Linked DNA regions of Homo sapiens: region 2 is linked to region 1. The links are contacts of gene promoters, found by promoter capture Hi-C in human tissues and cell types (Jung and others, 2019). All regions are on one chromosome and are shown on one strand. Each heading gives the region's core, a stretch centred on a gene start or on the middle of the fragment in contact. The rest is flanking DNA. Distances are from core to core; before and after follow the strand shown.

Region 1 (2,700 bases), core at 99-2,598:
AATTAATGTGACGTGGTGGCACCCACCTGCAAGCCCAGCTACTTGGGAGGCTGAGGCAGGAGGATCAGTGTGCCTGGGAGATTGAGGTTGCAGTGAGCTGGGGTTGCACCACTGCACTCCAGCCTGGGAGATAAAGTGAGACTTTGTCAAAAAAAAAAAAAAAAGAAAGAAAGAAAGAGAAAAGAAAAGAAAAGAGGCCAGGTGGCCGGGTGCTGTGGCTCACACCTGTAATCCTAGCACTTTGGGAGGCCGAGGCGGGTGGATCACCTGAGGTCAGGAGTTTGAGACCAGCCTGGACAACATGGTGAAACCCCATCTCTACTAAAAATACAAAAATTAGCTGGGTGTGGTGACGGGCGCCTGTAATCCCAGCTACTAGGGAGGCTGAGGCAGAAGAATTGCTGGAACCCGGGAGGTGGAGGTTGCAGTGAGCCAAGATCGTGCCATTGCACTCCAGCCCGGGGCCAACAACAGCGAGGCTCCATCTCAAAAAAAAAAAGAAAGAAAGAAAGAAAGAAAAAAGACCAGGCGCGGTGGCTCACGCCTGTAATCTCAGCACTTTGAGAGGCCGAGGCAGGCGGATCACGAGGCCAGGAGTTCGAGATGAGCCTGGCCAATATGGTGAAACCAAACCCCGTCTCTACTAAAAACACAAAAATTAACTGGGCGTTAATTTTTGGAGGCTGAGGCAGGAGAATCGCTTGAACCCGGGAGGCGGAGGGTTGTAGTGAGCCGAGATCGCGCCACTGCACTCCATCCTGGGCGACAGAGGGAGACTCTGTCTCAAAAAAAAAAAAAAGAAAGAAAGAAAAGAGAAAAGAAAAGAAAAAGAAGAAGAAAAGAAAAAATTGTTTGTATCAGATTTTCAAAGTGCCAGGAAACCATCCCACTCTACCTCCTTTAAAAAAAAAAAGTGCAGAGTGATTATAACCACTGGCTCTGGAGCCAGGAGCCCCAACTAAAACCCAGGCTTCTCTATTTACTAGGCCTACTTCCTTCCGCCTCACTTTCTTCATGTGTAGAGTGGGGGTGACAGCCAGCCAGCCCTCTCTCCTAAGCTTTTGGAGAGAAATAAATGGATTCATAAGAAAGGACATATTTGTAAATAAAGCAAACGATCGCTGTTGGATTCAGGCCCTCTTGCTTCATTATGCTGAATGTCAGTGTATTACTTAAGTTGTTCCTTTCAGCAGAGTTGACTGTTTCTGCCCAGAAAACCGGCCCTGGGCCAGGAAAATCTGGGCTTCCACACTGGGATGAAAGGTCTGGACGCCCGGATTCGCATATGCAAAGCGTGGGGGCGTGGCCCCGGGCTCCGGGCCAGGCAGGCTCCGCCCCCTTCCCACCAAGAGCGCCTGGATCCATCCGACAGCCGCGGGTGCGTGGTCGTGCGGCAAGTGAGCGATTTGGTGAACAGACACTCCCTTCTGTAGGTAAGAATATCTCGGGGGGCGAATTAATTGAAGAAGCACCGTCATCCCTCGGTCTTAGCAGTGTCGCCTCTCTCTTCCCGGGTTTGGAGAGCTGGGGGCGGGTTCCTGGCTCTGCGGGCCTGGGCTACACTCTGAGCCGCGTGAGGAGCTCTCCCCCTACGCCGCAGCCCGCGTGCTGGGATTCACCCAAGTGGGTTTGTCTGGAATTCCCATTTGCAGCCTTCTGGAAGCGCAGATTAAATAAAATCATGATTCCCGTAAAGTGCCAGCACCTCCTATGGTTACATCCCACGTTCACAGATTTTAACTGAAAAGGCATTTTAGCATAGAATTCCAAATTCCAATCCAAGGATGGAGAAAAGGTCCTTCCTAGTGGGAAAAAGGAAGGTGAGTTTGAATTTAAGAGAGCAGGGGCTTTTTTGGGAACCACTTGAAATTTAGTTAATTGAAACTAAAAGAAAACGCAACTACACCTTACAAAAACACTGCTGGAAAGGATACCTAAGTCATCAAATAATAAATAGTGTGACAGCTGTTTACCAAATCAATGTCGCTGCCGCAAATGTGCAAAAGGTTGGGACTTTCGGAGTGCTTCAAGTTTGAAAAAGGTAAAGGAATAATGTTTTCTAAAAGTACTCTCAGGCCAGGCGCAGTGGCTCACGCCTGTAATCCCAGCACTTTGGGAGGCTGAGCGGGGCGGATTGCTTGAGGTCAGGAATTCGAGACCAGCTTGGCCCTGGGATGAAACCCCGTCTCTACTAAAAAGGCAAAAATTAGCCGGGCATGGTGGCGGGTGCCTGTAATCCCAGCTACACTGGAGGCTGAGGCTGAAGAATGGCTTGAACTTGGGAGGCGAAGGTTGCAGTGAGCCAAGATTGCACCACTGCACTCCAGCCTGGGCGACCCAGCAAGATTCTGCCTCAAAAAAAAAAAAAAAAAAAAAAAAAAAGCACTCTCATGTGTTTTGCTCCTATCAATATTGAAACATTGGTGTCTCCTGTGGCAAAAGGTGTTTTTTTCATCGAGGCACATATATTAAATAGACCAAAACATAACTTCCCAAATATCTTATAAGATTATCCTAGTAGTAGCTGAAATGGACAAAAATACCAATTTCCTTCAGTCATTATTGCTAATAGACCAACAACACTCTTTTAAGGTTGTGTAATGGTAAATGCATACACATTTATTTAACATGCACACAGGGAGAATCAGAGTGATTGATTACCCACCCTGCAACATGTCTCAGAAGCTTATAGACTACCCT
Region 2 (2,808 bases), core at 93-2,592, 46 kb after region 1:
CCTTCTCCAACACTGGGGATTACAATTCGACATGAGATTTGGGTGGGGACACACAGCCAAACCATATCACTCAGGTAGTTTATTTCATTTTATTTTATTATTTATTTATTTATTTATTTATTTATTTATTGAGACAGAGTCTCACTGTGTCACCCAGGGTGGAGTGCAGTGGCACAGTCTCGGCTCACTGCAGCCTCCACCTCTCAGGTTCAAGTGGTTCTTGTGCCTCAGCCTCCCAAGTAGCTGGGATTACAGGCACACGCCACCATAGCGGTCTAATTTTTCTATTTTTAGTAGAGACGGGATTTCACCATGTTGGCCAGGTCGATCTTGAACTCCTGACCTCAAGTGATCTGTCCACCTCAGCCTCCCAAAGTGCTGGGATTACAGACATGAGCCACCGCGCCCAGCCTTATTTTTATTTTTGGAAACAGAGTCTTGTTATTGCCCACGTTGGTCTTGAACTCCTGGCCTCACATCATCTCTCACCTCTGTCTCCCAAAGCACTGGGATTATAGATGTAAGCCACAGTGCCCAGAAAATCAGTTTTTATTTTAAACACAAATACATTCTCATCACATTAAAAAAATAGCCCTAATTATAGAAAATGTCTTTATTAAATCAATTTAGAGAATAGATATGTAGATATGTGGTTCTAGCACTTCCAGTAAATTAAAACAGACCTACAAGGAATTGGGCTGAGGACCAATAAGCAAAGTAAGGTGTGACTGCTGTATCATAGACTCAGGCTTCCTCAGGAACCTAGGCCATTGAGGACCTGGCTACGTGTTCTCTGCCAGTCTGTGTCCTTCTGCTGGAGCTTGAAGTGCGCAGATCAAGAAGTGAGGGCAGAAAAATGGATATAAGGGGAGGAGAGGAAGAACTAGCTGGGGCTCACCGTTATGAGCTGGGGCCCAGGAGGACAGACAGCCCCCCTTGTCAGTTCTTGTTGCCCCTGACCTTGGTGGCATGGGTGTCCTGCAGGAAAAGGAACCCTTTGTTATGGAGCTAACCAGGTATGTAGCTAACCAAAAGGTCACAGAAGCCAAAGGAAGATCCAGGAGAAGACAGAACCATTGCAGGCCTTGGCTGCTGCCTCACGCCAATGAATTAAGGAAAAGGAGAAGAAAACAATAAGTAAAGGAAAAGGTTATTAACATCTGGTAGAGCTGAATCAAGTTGCTTTTCTTTCTTTTCTTTTCTTTTTTTCTTTTTTTTTTTCTGTCAGACTTGTCTCTGACACAAGGTTGCTTTTCATCAAATCAAAATTCAAGCAAAAAAAATCTGTATTTTGTTGTAGTATGGGTATTGACAACAATGGATAAAGCCATTTCACACTTTGGCTACCAAGATATAGATATGGTTATTCCTTCCTTTCAGGGGACACGGCTATATCTTCACAGTGGGCCATGTGAAAGTCCACAGGGATCTTCTGGGGGAGTGGGCTTTGGGAATCTTACCAGCTGCTACCCTCAGAAGTGGCCAAGCTTCGTTAGTTATTTAATATTCATTCAGGTTACAGTTACATATGCATCATTGTCCATTTAGTTATAGCCCCTAATTATACAGTATTATTTTATCTTAGTAATTTCAGTTCCAAGAACAGCATTTTATAAGATATTTATGGTATTGTATTAAATACCACATGCTAGATAACATAATGCCGTCTGAATATAAGAATAGGAAACTTATACTGATGCTTATGATCAGTAAGCAGTGATACTGTCTCCAGTTTTGATATATCTTTCCTGTTTACTGTCACACCCAGTTTTTCTCGTCTGCTTTAGTAATTCCTGCGCAACTATTTCTTTGAAAAACAAATTGCAACATGTTCTCAGGGACGTCAAAAAAAAAAAAAACTAAATGCAAAGATTACAAGAAATGCTAAATTCCATGAAAGTTTACAAAGTCTAAAAGAACACTTGTACCCACAAAGAGAAGATAAAGTCAAGTCTGAGTTAGGTAAGTGAGCTGAAGAATTAAGGGGCCCTTAGGCCACTTGGAAAGCACATTAAAGCAATGAAGTGCCACTTTTCTGTTAGATCATGTGTTCTTAGATTAATGATCAAGCTGACTAGTAATAAAGCAACAAATCTGGAAAAGTATCCTCAGTCTGACACTACAGGACCCAATCATATAGTCATGATCTGGTGCCTTTGGTTAGACTGGGGATACTTGAAGATGAAAAATTTAAAAAAGAGAATTTAAAAAAACACTGCTATTCTTCAGGCATCAAATTCTCTTTCACCCTTGAGGGCCTTGGGAGAACAATGATCTCTTCTTTTGTAAATTTTCCTATTGTGAAAGATAGAAAAAACAACATAAGAATTGAGACATTTGTGATTATGTAAATGACTACAGCCTTATGATTGCTGACTATGGTATAAATGTGGTAAGTATTTTTTTTTAAACGGACTGACTCATGTTCATTAAGTATTTTTGTGAGATTTTTGGATGCCTGTCTAGGTAAGAAAACTGTGGGATGAAAGTTAAACTTTGAAGTGTTGTCATTTTGTAGTAAGTCATATTCACAAATATTAAAAATCATGATTCTTGTCTTCATTTGAATGCTCTCAAGGGAAGTCTTGTGTCTCTCTGTATTGTTCATGTTAAAAACTCTAGAGTTTCTTAGAGGACCACAAGACCAAATGAAAGATGCTCTTATGATGACTGTGATTCAAATCAGTCTTTCTCCAATTTCTAAAATGTAGCAAACATGAATATCAGATAAACCTGCAGCCACCCTAGGTTTTGGTTCTCCCAGATGTAATGACACAGAACACAGACCTTGGTATGGGAGGTCAAATC

The links. The method cuts DNA at HindIII sites, captures the fragments that hold promoters and counts their contacts. A contact is called where the count stands out against the background at its distance.
Region 2: a fragment that was not itself captured here is called in contact with the fragment with the promoter of SLC19A3 in region 1 in 5 of the 25 tissues and cell types used here (H1 embryonic stem cells, bladder, hippocampus and 2 more).

The regions. Positions count from the first base shown.
Region 1 is chr2:227,716,676-227,719,375 of GRCh38, reverse strand. It overlaps SLC19A3 (solute carrier family 19 member 3), which reads left to right and starts at 1,348. Exons shown (of 6, transcript NM_025243.4): 1 at 1,348-1,433. RefSeq lists an enhancer at 931-1,817. The HindIII fragment of the contact is 9,813 bases long and covers 1-2,700 here.
Region 2 is chr2:227,670,882-227,673,689 of GRCh38, reverse strand. No RefSeq gene overlaps it. Among named protein-coding and RNA genes, the nearest start is that of SCYGR5, 5.5 kb to the right of the region's middle. The HindIII fragment of the contact is 5,458 bases long and covers 1-2,808 here.